Linked DNA regions of Homo sapiens: regions 1, 2 and 4 are each linked to region 3. The links are contacts of gene promoters, found by promoter capture Hi-C in human tissues and cell types (Jung and others, 2019). All regions are on one chromosome and are shown on one strand. Each heading gives the region's core, a stretch centred on a gene start or on the middle of the fragment in contact. The rest is flanking DNA. Distances are from core to core; before and after follow the strand shown.

The links. Contacts are between HindIII fragments. The study calls those that stand out against the background at their distance.
Region 1: a contact is called between a fragment that was not itself captured here and the fragment with the promoter of TOP3A in region 3, in 1 of the 25 tissues and cell types used here (dorsolateral prefrontal cortex).
Region 2: the fragment with the promoter of ZNF624 here is called in contact with the fragment with the promoter of TOP3A in region 3 in 1 of the 25 tissues and cell types used here (dorsolateral prefrontal cortex).
Region 4: a contact is called between a fragment that was not itself captured here and the fragment with the promoter of TOP3A in region 3, in 1 of the 25 tissues and cell types used here (dorsolateral prefrontal cortex).

The regions. Positions count from the first base shown.
Region 1 is chr17:16,574,316-16,577,369 of GRCh38, forward strand. No RefSeq gene overlaps it. Among named protein-coding and RNA genes, the nearest start is that of ZNF287, 6.6 kb to the left of the region's middle. The HindIII fragment of the contact is 7,092 bases long and covers 1-3,054 here.
Region 2 is chr17:16,652,269-16,655,671 of GRCh38, forward strand. ZNF624 (zinc finger protein 624) reads right to left here and starts at 1,582. Exons shown (of 6, transcript NM_020787.4): 1 at 1,496-1,582. It overlaps LOC124903934 (a long non-coding RNA gene), which reads left to right and starts at 1,624. Exons shown (of 4, transcript XR_007065639.1): 1 at 1,624-1,702; 2 at 1,816-2,930; 3 at 3,380-3,403. RefSeq lists an enhancer at 826-1,336 and a silencer at 1,292-1,491. The HindIII fragment of the contact is 17,730 bases long and covers 1-3,403 here.
Region 3 is chr17:18,313,174-18,316,406 of GRCh38, forward strand. TOP3A (DNA topoisomerase III alpha) reads right to left here and starts at 1,821. Exons shown (of 19, transcript NM_004618.5): 1 at 1,426-1,821. The coding sequence starts at 1,605. It overlaps SMCR8 (SMCR8-C9orf72 complex subunit), which reads left to right and starts at 2,120. Exons shown (of 2, transcript NM_144775.3): 1 at 2,120-3,233. The coding sequence starts at 2,617. It also overlaps the pseudogene RPL21P121. RefSeq lists enhancers at 870-1,393, 1,341-1,430, 1,441-1,790, 1,918-2,441, 2,131-2,180 and a silencer at 1,941-1,990. The HindIII fragment of the contact is 14,501 bases long and covers 1-3,233 here.
Region 4 is chr17:16,596,332-16,599,610 of GRCh38, forward strand. No RefSeq gene overlaps it. Among named protein-coding and RNA genes, the nearest start is that of ZNF287, 29 kb to the left of the region's middle. The HindIII fragment of the contact is 5,873 bases long and covers 1-3,279 here.

The DNA.
Region 1 (3,054 bases), core at 545-3,044, 1.7 Mb before region 3:
ACAAAAAAATTAACCAGGTGTGGTGGCGGGCGCCTGTAGTCCCAGCTACCTGGGAGGCTGAGGCAGGAGAGTGGTGTGAACCCGGGAGGCAGAGCTTGCAATGAGCCGAGATTGGGCCACTGCACTCCAGCCTGGGCGACAGAGCGAGACTCTGTCTCAAAAAAAAAAAAAAAAGAAAAAGGTTCTGAGTTGACATTGATACTTAGGGACCTTAGGCAACATGATGGCCTCTATGTTAAAATGGAGAAGTGTGGCAGCCAGGTAGTCCATGAAAGTCTGTCTCATGGCAGGCCCACAGGATTCATTGCCCCATTCAGTGGTAATTTCCAAAGACCTTGATTGTATAACTGGAATGGATGTACTTACTGTTGGCAAACCAAATTAGTTCCTTGGCCTATAGGGTAAGAGCTACCAAAAAGGCCAAGTGGAATACTCTGAAACTACTTCCCTACCCCTTCCTTGGCCAAGACATAAGTCAAAAAGTGTCACTTCCAGAGGGAATGGCAGAGATTCATGCCTCTCTTAATGACCTAAAAGGTACAGGGTGGCAGTCCTCATTGTATCCCCACTTGATTTAACAGTCAGGCCCTTCCCAAACCCATATGGATTATGAGGATGACAGTGGATTATTATAAAAGATTGAACAAGAATTTGCTCCAATTGTTTTGCTAGAACAGACTGAGACATCCACAATTACATGGCATCCAGGCTTTGCTCTGGCAAGTGTGTTCATCTGCCAGGTGAGCAAGACATGGCAGGTAAGTCGGAGGCCTTGGTAAAAGACAAGCACTACAGAGGGTGGAGATGGATCCTACACAATTTCAGGGGCCTACTACAGCAGTAACATTTTAGGGGCAAGACAGCAATGGTCTCCAATACAGAGGGTGGATTATTGTGTTTCACATTCCTACCTCTTTTTTTTTTTTTTTGAGACTGAGTCTCACTTTGTCACCCAGGCTGGAGTGCAATGGCATGATCTCAGCTCACTGCAACCTCTGCCTCCTGGGTTCAAGCGATTCTCCTGTCTCAGCCTCCCGAGTAGCTGGGACTACAGGTGTGTGCCACCATGCCCGCTAATTTTTTTGTATTTTTGGTAGAGACAGGGTTTCACTGTGTTAGCCAGGATGGTCTCGAACTCCTGACCTCGTGATCCACCCACCTTGGCCCCCCAAAGTCCTGGGACTACAGGCATGAGCCACCATGCCTGGCCTACACTCCTACCTCTTAACAAGGAAGCACAATCCTTGATAAGACCTTTTGGGTTTCAAAGGCAGAACATTCTAACTTGAGCAAGAATCATGACATGGAATGCTGTCAGCTCTGAGTGGGGCACAGAGCAGGAAAAGGCTAGGCAGCAGGTCCAGGCTGTAGTTCAAGCAGTACTTCCACCTGGGCCATATGACCCAGCAGCTGTTATAGTAGTAGAGGTATCTGGGCTGCAAAAGACACCATGTGGAGTTTATGGCAAGCCCCACCATGTGAATCACAATATAGACCCCTCGGATTATAGAACAGGTCTTGTCATCTTCAGCAGAGAATTACATGCCATTCAAAGATCAGCTCCTAGCATGACACTGGGTAAAGAACTTGACCATGGAACATCATGTGACCTTGACCAGACCTGTTTATCATGAGCTAGGTTCCATCGGATGCTTTAAGTCATGAGGTCAAGCAAGTCTAGCAGTAATTCATAAGTAAAATGGAAGTGGTGTATGTGAGTTTGGGCATGTTTTAATATAGGTGTTATTATTATTTAAGTATAGTAAGTCCAATAGATCAGAAGATGACTGGCATTGAAAAGATAGTTTGTAATACAGATCCCAGCAGAAGGGGGTATTCCATGCCATGGGGATCTCCACGAAGAAGCACTGGGTTGGTCAGGAGGCAGAGGGTGGGGAGTTGTGGCCAAGAGCATTTATTGTGGTTTCCATGGGAAGGAATGATGAGGCATGGTAAGTGGATTCAGAATTGGCTAGTTTGAATAATTTTTTTTTTTTTTTGAGACTGAGTCTTGCTCTGTCACCCAGGCTGGAGTACAGTGGCACAATCTCAGCTCACTGCAACCTCTGCCTCCTTGGTTCAAGACATTCTCCTGCCTCAGCCTCCCCAGTAGCTGGGATTACAGGCACGCACCACCACGCCCAGCTAATTTTTGTATTTTTAGTAGAGACAAGAGTTTCACCATGTTGGCCAGGCTGGTCTCGAACTCCTGACCTTGTGATCTGCCTGACTTGGCCTCCCAAAGTATTGGGATTACAGGTGTGAGCCACCACGCCTGGCCAGTTTGAATAATTTTAGTGTGCCCTGGGGCATAAGTCTGTGCACAGTTGTCTGTTACTTAGGTACAATGTGCGTGGAGTGAAGAAAAAGTGGGAGAGAGGAGTAATTCTTTTTATTTTTTTGGTGCTGGAGTGATTAGAATAGGGGGATAGTGGCCCAGAGATAAGAAGGTGCCTGCGGGTGTGGGCTCTGGACTGGTTGGTTTGCATTTGAAAAGTGCACTCACAGACAAATTGTTAATGATCTCTAGGAACTGACTAACCCTGGTAAGGGCAGTCCCTCAGCAAGTCTTCAGATGTCAAAGCATCAGAATACATAAAATAAAAGACATGGTTAACACAGGGCACAAGCAAGACCAAAGTGGATAAGCTGCACAGGCAGATGGCTCAGCCTTTTATGGCATGATAACATGACACCTTCCCTCAGTGCACACCTATGATTGTGGGGGAACCAGCTAATGGAGGAAGAAAAAGTCCAACCCTGGTTCATGGATGAGTTTGCTCAATTTGTGGGTACCAGCTGAAAATGTGGGTACCAGCTCCTATATCATAGCCCTATTTAAGAGTGGCCTTGAAAGAAACTGATGAGAGAATGTCCTTGCAATGGACAGAGCTGGTGAACACCTGGACGTTTATTTTATGTAGAAAGAGAAGTGGACAGAAGTAAGGATACACACGAAAAAAGATGGCTGGCTTGGATGGTTGGTCAAGGGACTTAGAAGATGGAAAGACTGGAGGCAAGGAGGTCTGGGGGAAAATCCAAGTGGATAGAGCC
Region 2 (3,403 bases), core at 332-2,831, 1.7 Mb before region 3:
TACACTGACCCCCAAGTTTTACAAGGTTGCAAAGAAAAAAAATGAGCCAAGAATATTGCCCCATCCCGCAACCCCCGAACACTAAAGCAGACCTACAAAGAGCAACATAAGGCATTTTCAATTCCGAAGGTCTAGAGTAATGGTTTTCTGCATCTTTAACATTTATCAAGAGTGAGCTGAGTCATCATTTTTAAAATATTTGTAAATATTAATAAACTCTTTGGCAATACTTTATGTAGATTATGTAGATTATGCTCGTAACATATGTTTAACAACCAAACTACAATAAATCCCTTGTTTTATTTTATAATTAGAATAAACAATATTTAACATTTAATATATTCAGCTTGATCTCAATTGTGCAAATGTAATGCATAGAAAAAAAGACTGAGTAACCCAAAACTCTACTGAGACCTCTGAGACCTGGGGCTGTGATGTTTACCCTTCTTTCTGCTTTTCTGTACTCTCCAAGCAGACAAGAAGAAGTATCTACCTATACATAGGAGTGTGGAATAGGAATAAAATCCCAGAGTGGCTGGCCACATCCCCAGGTTCTAACCCTGCTTTGGCTACCGTAAAACTGTGACCACAGGCAAGTCACTTGAGCACAACGAATCAGCTATTAGTACATGACAGTAGCCACCTTATATGTTTCTACTGTCCCCTTTGTCATTATGCAGAAGATATCTAGGCCACTATTCCCCAGTTATAATTTCCCTATTTACAAGCTCTGTCTTTCCAACTATTGCAAACGTATCCAGAGACTTAAGGAGAAACTTTACTTGTTTTGCTTCCTTGGCCAGTGCAGTTATTTAGAAATAATGAAGGGTCCATGTTTTTGCTGAGAATCTCAGCGCCATGTACCAGTCCAGCATTTCCCAACCAATGCAATAATACCATTGTCATGTCAGGGAGTGACAAGTGATTAAAAGGTGATTACAGTATTTGAAATGTGACATTTCAGGAAAAGCTGCCTCGGTTACTGAGTAGCGCAGGTCCCCCGATGTGGAACCTAGTTCCATCCCTGCCAGTTCAGAAGCCAGAGCGGATATGCTCCTGCCAACCTCGCCTTCTTTCCCTAACTGCTCTCCTCTACCCACTTCGGGTATGCCCTCCTCAGGGCCTGCAAGGCGCGGGGCTGGGAAGACCGGGAAAGTCGGGTCAGGGGCCCGCCCGCCCTACTCGACTCCCTGCGCCCTGCGCCCGGCTCTTTTTAACCCCAGCGCCGCCAGGCCCGCAGGGAGGGGGTTCCCGGGTTTGGACCCGGACTAGGAGGCCGCATAGGGCACGCGGCCCTACCTGTGAGGGAGGCCAGCTGGAGACTGAACCCACACTCGGGAAGGAGGCCCAGCCCCAATCGCCTCTCAGGAGTGGGCGGGTCCGCTCAGGGACAGGGGCTCTAGAGGGAACGGCCACGCCCCGGACGCCGCCGGGAGCCAAGCGCCAAGGGAGGGGCGGCGGGCAACCGAGGCCAGGCGCCCGGGACAACGAGTACCTGGCGGCCGAACTGAGGACAACTGAGGGAACTCGCAGAGCAGGGCGGGAACGCTTCCAGCAATGGCGGCGGCTCGGCGGTGCCGGCCTCCAGGCAGGGCATTGCGCCTGCGCAGCCGGAGCGTCGGAACTACAGTGCCCAGAATCCTCAGCGCCTGAGCCCCCCGCCCCTTTTGTCTGCGTTAGTGAAGGAATTGGCTCTTCGAGGGTGAGAAAAAATTCCAATTGGATACACTTCTGTTGAGAAGCCTTGACTATGTGTCAAAAGCAATAGCACTAGAGATACAAATAATGACACAACCCTTGTCTTGGAACATTTAGGTGCGACTAAAGAAAGCCGTCGAGAGAACAGATAGATGTGATCCAGACAAATATGTGAACAAGTGCTTGGAAACACATATTTCTGAACAATTCCCTTTATGACAATTCCCTCAGAGTTGGAAGAGACAACAATTGATGACTATAATGCCAATTAAGTAGAATGGATATGAATGTCTGAAAATAAGCTGGAAATTTTAAGGCCAAAATTCTTCGAAATACAAAGAAAAAACCTTTCTGAAGACAAATAGCTGTAGAAGTTCTCCTCAATGCATACAAATGATAATTCTTAAAACACAATGACTGAAAGTATTTATTTGCAACAAATTTATTTGACCACTTATTCAAGGGCTGCTCGTCCAAGAGCTATATTAAGGTCTATTTACTTTATCCCTACCAAAGGCGGTATTTTTTGAGGATAGAAACTACATCTCATGGAGTTTATCACTCAGAGTGCCTACTTAGGAGACTGCTTGCATACTGAATGAAACGAAGGAAGAATGAATGAATAATTTGGGACCCCACCTCCCAACACACTTCCACATATCGAAATGCACACGGAATGAGGTACATCTTCTAAGGAGAGTGGCATTGAAGAGTAATCAAAACAACAGGATATTCACAGGAGGACTGGAATAAAACGAAATTTCCAGTGAAAAAGATTACTCAAAATATTTATTCAATACACTCTGAAATTAGAAACTAAGCAAATGTCTTTTGGAGATCCCAGTTCCCTCACATTCCCCACAGATGAAGATGAGCCAAACAGAAGTCCAAAACTTAAACATTACAAAACAAATAATAAAATAAGACACTGTGACTGAAAATCAGCACAAACAATAAACGGCAGAAATATATCCCCCAAAACTTCAGAGGCAGAGCTCATTTGATTAAAAATTTAAAATTATTACATTTAAAATGTTTAAGGACATGATAGATGGAATTAAAAACATTATCAACAAACAACAGAATGTAAAATAAGCCACCAGGAAAGTTTAGAGAAACATACACATTTCGTTAAACTATTAAAAAAAAATGTTTAACACAATATTTAGGGTAGATTATTACTTCTACAGGGATAAAGTCCAGGAAAGACAGACACACAGGTGACTTCAAAGGTATTGGTAGTGTTTTATTTCTTAATTTTGGTAGGAGTACACTGTTCAATTTGTAGTGATATTTGTTATAGGCAATTTTGTGTGCATTTTATATTTAGTAATTTTTAAACTCTTAAAGAACTCTTCTGTGAAGGAAGAAACTAATGCTTTTTGGCTTCAAATAATAAACCAATGGTTAAAAGTTACTTGAAGATAGATTTTGATTCAGATTGTATAACTTTATGCTAACAACGAACAGCTTTAGAAAATAGAGTAGGCTACCTTGTGCAATAATGAATTTGAATTCTTTGGAGAAGTTCAGGCAGAGATTAGATGAATCCTTGCTTAGAATTTTTAAATGTCCTCTTGGGAATTTGATTGCATGACCTGCAAGCTCTCTTCCACATAAGCATTTTGTGTTTACATGAATATTCCTTTCATTACATTTATTTTTCCTCCCATTGGGCCAGGTAATGAATAGATTTGTATCATCA
Region 3 (3,233 bases), core at 571-3,070:
CAATGAAGGTGATATTGAGGACTTCGTGAGAATGCATACTGTTCAAAAGGGAATGACCCACAAATGTTACATGGCAGAACTGGAAAAGTCTATGTTACCCAGCATGCTGTTGGCACTGCTGCGAACAAGGGCTAGATTCTTGCCCAAAGAATTAATGTTTCTATTGAGCATATTAAGCACTCTAAGAACCAAGATCTTTCCTGAAATGTGTGAAGGAAAATGATCAAAAAAGAAGCAAGTCAAAGAGAAAGGGTTCACCTGAAGTGCCAGCCTGTTCCATTGAGGGAAGTACACTTTGTGAGAACCAATGGAAAAGAGCCTGAGCCGCTGGAACCTATTCCCTATGGATTCATGGTATGATAGGGTAAAAATAGATAAATACAAGACCTCTGGATTGCTTAAAAAAAAAAAAAAAAAAGGGAGAGAGAGAGAATGAATTCAGCAGAGCCTTGAAGGATAAGAAGTTAGGCGTAGGAGAACCATTTTTCAATGTCTACTTCATTGTCTAGAAGTAGACAAACCTTGGGGCTGGTCACCAGGACTTCTAGCACTGGAAACAGGTAAAGCTGTCAGCCAGCATTCACACAACCCTGGCTCCACTCCCACTATCCTTGATCTGGAAACAGGTCTTAGGACCCTGGGAACTAAAGAAAAATGAGCAGGGAACTTCCACCCATGCTCTTAGAAAAGTTCTCCAGAAAACCATTTCAGGATCTACTTTTGTTATCTGAGATATTTTCCTGGACAGCTCTTTATGTCTCCCGTGGCACCTCCTTTATGAAACTTTTTCTTATCCTCCCTTGCGTTTGTGCCTCCCGTGTGTGTAGAACACATTCTTACCACTTACCTCTCTCAGAATCAGTTCATTCGGGTAGGAACAGGGCTGACTTCAAATCTAATCCCCAAACCTTACCGTGTTGCTGTAAGTGTGCACTGTGAGGCTGGAAAGTCACAAGGGCTGTAGAATGCAGTGGCTGTGGCACAGGATGGGGAGGGCTAGGTTGGCTGGGGAACGATCGGGCAGGGCTTGAATGCCAAGTTAAGGGAATCTGGTCAGTAGTTCCCAAATGAATTTCTGAATCTCTAGGGAAAAACAGTAAAATACACACTTCCCCAGCCTCACACAAGACCCGAAGGGCAGCCAGCGCCCGAGGCGATTCCGAGAATCAGACAAGTTTGGGAACCTGCTAAGCGCAAGCAAAACAAAAGGTTTCCACGCAAATGAGTGAGATGTATCAACTACGTTTTAAAATGCACTCCAGTCCGAGAGCAGACAGGAGGCCACTGCAATAATCCAGACGAGGGGCAGTGAGGCCTGAGAAATGGGAGATAATCGCCTTCATCTCGATTCTTGGCGCCCACCACGCTGTCCCGCTCGGTGGGCCTCCCTTAAGGCACGCAGCTGATCGGAACGCGCTTTCTTACCCGCCTCATGCGACCGTTTGACAGCAGGTCGGCGATCCCCTTGGCCGCGTCGTTTTTTTCGGCCACACAGAGGACTTTCCGCACGCCTCGGAGGGCCATCTCCATGGCGGCGCGGGAAAAGGCACGGTCTTCGGGCCGTCGCAGCCACCGGAGCGCGTAGCGGGCGACAGGAAAGATCATCCTCAGACCTCGCGCCCGGAGCCGCTCCCCGGCTGCCGGCGCATCCTGGGGAAGCCAGAGATGAGGCTCAAATGGCGCCCACCGAAAGGGAACCAGAGCCTCGCTTCGGTCACGTCCCCACCAGCCTGCTGGCCTTTGGAGCTTCAGTCACTGAGCCTTTCCCGTGCCGCAGCCGCCGCCTCAGCACCGAATCCAGTATCTTGGCGTGGAACTTCCGCCCGCCTTCTCCAGCTACTTCCGCCAGGCGCGCGCCCCACAGCGACCTGGAACTACAACTCCCAGACTGTCCCGCGCCCCTCGTCCAAGCACGTTCCCCTCTGCCACCTTCCCGCCGCCCCCGTCTCACTCCGCCCCTCTTTCCCCTCCTTCCCGGCAGTGGTTGGTTAATCGGACTCCTTCTTGCGGGGAGCCGCCAGACACTCCCATCCAAGGCCTCTTTCTCATGACTTTTTAATCTCCTGCTCGGAAGTCTACGAGGACGCTTCCGGGTCACGCGGCGCGGACACCAGGAGTCATGTGATGTCAAGATGGCGGCGCCGCGGTAGCAGGATCCGGGTTGTGGCGTCCTAGGAGCCGCGACGGTTTCTGCCCTCGGGCAGTGAGGGGCAGCAGCGCTTGGCTGACCCCTGCGGCGTCCCGTAGCCTCGCGTTAAGCCTTGTTCAGAGCGGGGGCTTTTGCTGTCGCAGTGGGTTCCGGAGAGTGCAGGTGATTTCGCAGCAGGTTTCTTGTGCTGGCCGCGCTCGCCGGACGAAGAAGAGAAGGGCAGTTGGGCCTGCGGCCTTGGCGTTCATGAGGCCTCAGAGAGCTCCGGAGGAGCTACAACTGTGAGGGGGCTGCTAGAGTTCTTCTCCTCGGGTGTGTGAGAAGCAGCCTAGGACCCCGGGTTCGGGGAGTCGCAAAGAAGGCCGTAAGGGCTTCACTTCCTTCTCCGGAGGCCTGCCTTCTGCGCGTCGATTAACACCGCATTCTTTCCCACTTCCTCTCAATGTTTTCTTCATATATCTGGAAATATGATCAGCGCCCCTGACGTAGTGGCCTTCACCAAAGAGGAAGAGTATGAAGAAGAGCCTTACAATGAGCCGGCCCTGCCTGAGGAGTACTCGGTGCCGCTCTTCCCCTTCGCCAGTCAGGGTGCTAACCCCTGGTCAAAACTGTCCGGGGCCAAGTTTTCGAGGGACTTCATTCTTATTTCCGAGTTCTCTGAGCAGGTGGGACCCCAACCCTTACTGACCATCCCCAATGACACCAAAGTTTTTGGCACTTTTGATCTCAATTACTTCTCCCTGCGTATCATGTCTGTGGATTACCAGGCTTCCTTCGTGGGCCATCCTCCTGGATCTGCCTACCCCAAGCTGAACTTCGTGGAGGACTCCAAGGTGGTGCTGGGAGATTCTAAGGAGGGCGCCTTTGCATACGTGCACCACCTTACCCTATACGACCTGGAGGCCCGTGGCTTCGTGAGGCCGTTTTGCATGGCTTATATCTCTGCAGACCAGCATAAAATCATGCAGCAGTTCCAGGAGCTTTCAGCCGAATTTTCCAGAGCTTCTGAGTGCTTGAAGACTGGCAACAGGAAGGCATTTGCTGGGGAACTTGAAAAAAAGCTGAAAGACTTGGATTACACCAG
Region 4 (3,279 bases), core at 31-2,530, 1.7 Mb before region 3:
AACCTGGGAGGTGGAGGTTGCAGTGAGCCGAGATCGCGCCACTGCACTCCAGCCTGGGCAACACAGCGAGACTCCGTCTCAAAAAAAATAAAATAAAAAATAAAAAAAGGAAAAAAAAAAGAAAATAGGAAAATCCATAGAGACAGAAAAAAGACTAGTGGTTACCAGAGCCTGGGAGGAGGGGGGAAATGTGGAGTGGCTGCTTAATGGGTGAGGATTTCCTTTTGGGGTGGTGACAAATTCTGGACCTAGATAGTGTTGATGGTTGCATGACATTGTGAATGTACTTAATGTCAGTGAATTATACACTCTAAAATGGTTAGGATGATAAACTTCATGTTATGTGTATTTTGCTATAATAAAATACACAGCCTCGAGCCCCTGTGTAATCAGCGTGAATCCATTTATGAGGGTGGCACCCTCATGAACACCTCCCACTAGACCCCCTCTCCCAACACTGGTGCATTGAGGATTAAGTCTCCAACACATGCTTTTTGGGAGACACATTCAAACCATATGGTATTCCCCACAATACTGATGCTCATCTGTCATTTCCATGAAGCCCCCACCACTCAGGATGCATAAAAGCTTACTTAGTAGGATTGATGATGAGGCTTGCAGTCTCCCTGAGGAGAGCCTAGGGCCCCAGAAGCGAGCTTGCACCTCCAGGCCCTATTAACCATTAGAACTCAATCCCTGTTCCAAACACAATCAGTTCCTTCCACCCCAGCCTCCCCTTACTGGGTCAGATTTGACTGGGCATTTTAAGTGCGAGCGATGTAGTCCTCTCTCCTGAATTCAAGTTCCTCCCCCTACCCAGAAATGACAATTGCACATACAGAAGCTGATGCGTACAGTTTTAAAGAATACAATTTCTGTGTAAAAGTGTCACCATACAGTTGAAAACATCTGTATCACATATGTAACTTGCTGCCAGATGCCGGGCCAGTCACAGTGCACTCTGGCTGGATGTTTCAGAGATACTGGTTGCCTATGAAATGGTGACCATCTGATTCTGCAGAACCACAAAGTGAACACAAGTGATGATTCTAGGCATCAGTTTGCTAGAAAAGGGATCCAGCCCTCCACTTGTCACCCGAACCTCAGAGCTTCAGCCTTGGGGTTTCCTTTCAGGGCTGTGTTATGAAGGCAGAATCCCTCCCTGGTCTTCACGGATGCAGAAGGAGTTGCTGCCAACTTGAGATCTGGCACAAAAACTAAGGGAGGACTTGGAGAGGGAGTGAGGCCTCCTGAGCTGGGGCCACAGCCCCAGGGGAGCCCAGCTGCCTCCATGGCCCCCATCACAGAGATGGCCTCCCCCTGGCCTCGCTGACCAGAGCCTCAGTGGACAGGTGTGAAGGGGCAGATGGGACTCCTTCACTTTGCTCCAGTCACTCAGGGCTCCATCTCATCAGGGCAAGCTCTCTTCTCACCCCACACACCCTTCCACCCCGACACGGGCACATATACAACTGCCAGTGTGTCCCAGCCCCATGATATCCATCCAGACTTCAGCCCAGGCTGTCCCACCTCTGTGTCAGCCCTCAACAGGCTTTCGGCACAGGCTTGTCGATCTTGTTAAATGAAAATGTGTTTAACAAATTGGGATTGCAGAATCAGGTTGATTTATAGAGTAAAATGCTATCTGTGGCTAGGGCCCTCCAGGGCCCTGTGCACACATGTATGCATGCTACAGCTCCCTGAAGCCACGCAGCTGGAGAACAGAGCCAATCAGGTTCATCTGGCCAGGCAGGCAGCAGTAGGTGTTCCTGAAACCTTGCTCCTGAGACCCCGTAGCTCCAACACAGAAAGTCTGGCCAAACTGATCTACCTTGGATGGAGCCCCTCACCTACTCTGGGTCCCCACTCTCAAGTCCTTCCCAGACCTAGGGTGTGAACGGCCAGAGTCAGACCCAACACCTGCCCTCGTGTGGAGACTGCCCTACCAAGAGGCCCTTCCTTTCCATTCTATACCCTCCATCTCTACAGCAAAGATGTCATTCCTCAGCCCCATAAGTGGCAATGTCCCCACATTCCCAGCCACGGTCAGCTCCTTAAAACACAGGAGCCAACCTTCTCCATAGCCTCCAGGGAGGAGAGCATGCAGGGCCCTAGAGATGCCCGAGTTTAGGGCATGTGACAGAAGGTGATAGGGACAGAGCTCAGCTCTGTGCTGATTCTTCATGAACGGCTTGATGCTCTCCCTCTGGTGATGAGTGAGTTCTCACAGTCTTAGTTCTCATGAGAACTTACTGTTGGAAAAAGCCTGGCACCTCCTCCCTAGCCATGTGGTGCCGGCTCCCCGTCTCCTTCCGCCATGAGTGGAAGCAGCCTGAGGCCCTCACCGGAAGCAGATGCTGGCTCCGTGGTCCTTGGAAAGCCTGCAGAGCCATGGGCCAAATAAGCCTCTTTTCTTTATAAATTACCTTCTTCAGGCATTCCTTTTTAGCAACACAGACAGACTGGGAGGGTGACCCAGCCGCACATCCAGGCTTCTCCCTAGCTTGCTTTCTTTCTTTTTTTTTGAGACAGAGTCTCGCTCTGTCACCCAGGCTGGAGTGCCATGATCTTGGCTCACTGCAACCTCCGCCTCTGGGGTTCAAGCAATTTTCTGCCTCAGCCTCCCGAGTAGCTGGGATTACAGGTGCCCATCCGGCTAATTTTTTTGTATTTTTAGTAGAGACGGGGTTTCACCAAGTTGGCCAGGCTGGTCTTGAACTCCTGACCTCATGATCCACCCGCCTCAGCCTCCCAAAGTGCTGGGATTACAGGTGTGAGCCACCGCGCTTGGCCCTCCCCAGTTTTCTAAAGAGGGACCTGGGCTCCTCCCCTCTGCAGCCATGGGTATTTAGGCCAGGCATCTTGGCAGGCATTAAACCAGTATCAAACCCATCAGGGGTTTCCCCCATGAGGTTTCAGCACCTTCAAGAGACTTAACACTCATGTTGAAATTTAATCCCTAATGTGGCAGTGTTGAGAGGTGATTTGGGTCACGAGGGCTCTGCTCGTGAATTAAGGGATTAGTGGGTGAATGGATTAATGGGTTATCATGGGAGCGGCATTAGTGACTTTCTGAGGAGGAAGAGAGACCTGAGCTGGCACCATCAGCCCCCTTGCCACATGATGCCCTGTGCTGTATCAGGATGCTGCAGAGTCCCCACCAGCAAGAAGTCCCCATCAGCAGCCCCTTGGCCTTGGACTTTTCAGACTCCATAATTGTAAGAAACAAAAGCCTTTTGTTTATAAATTACCCAGCTTCAGGTATTCTGTTACAAGCAA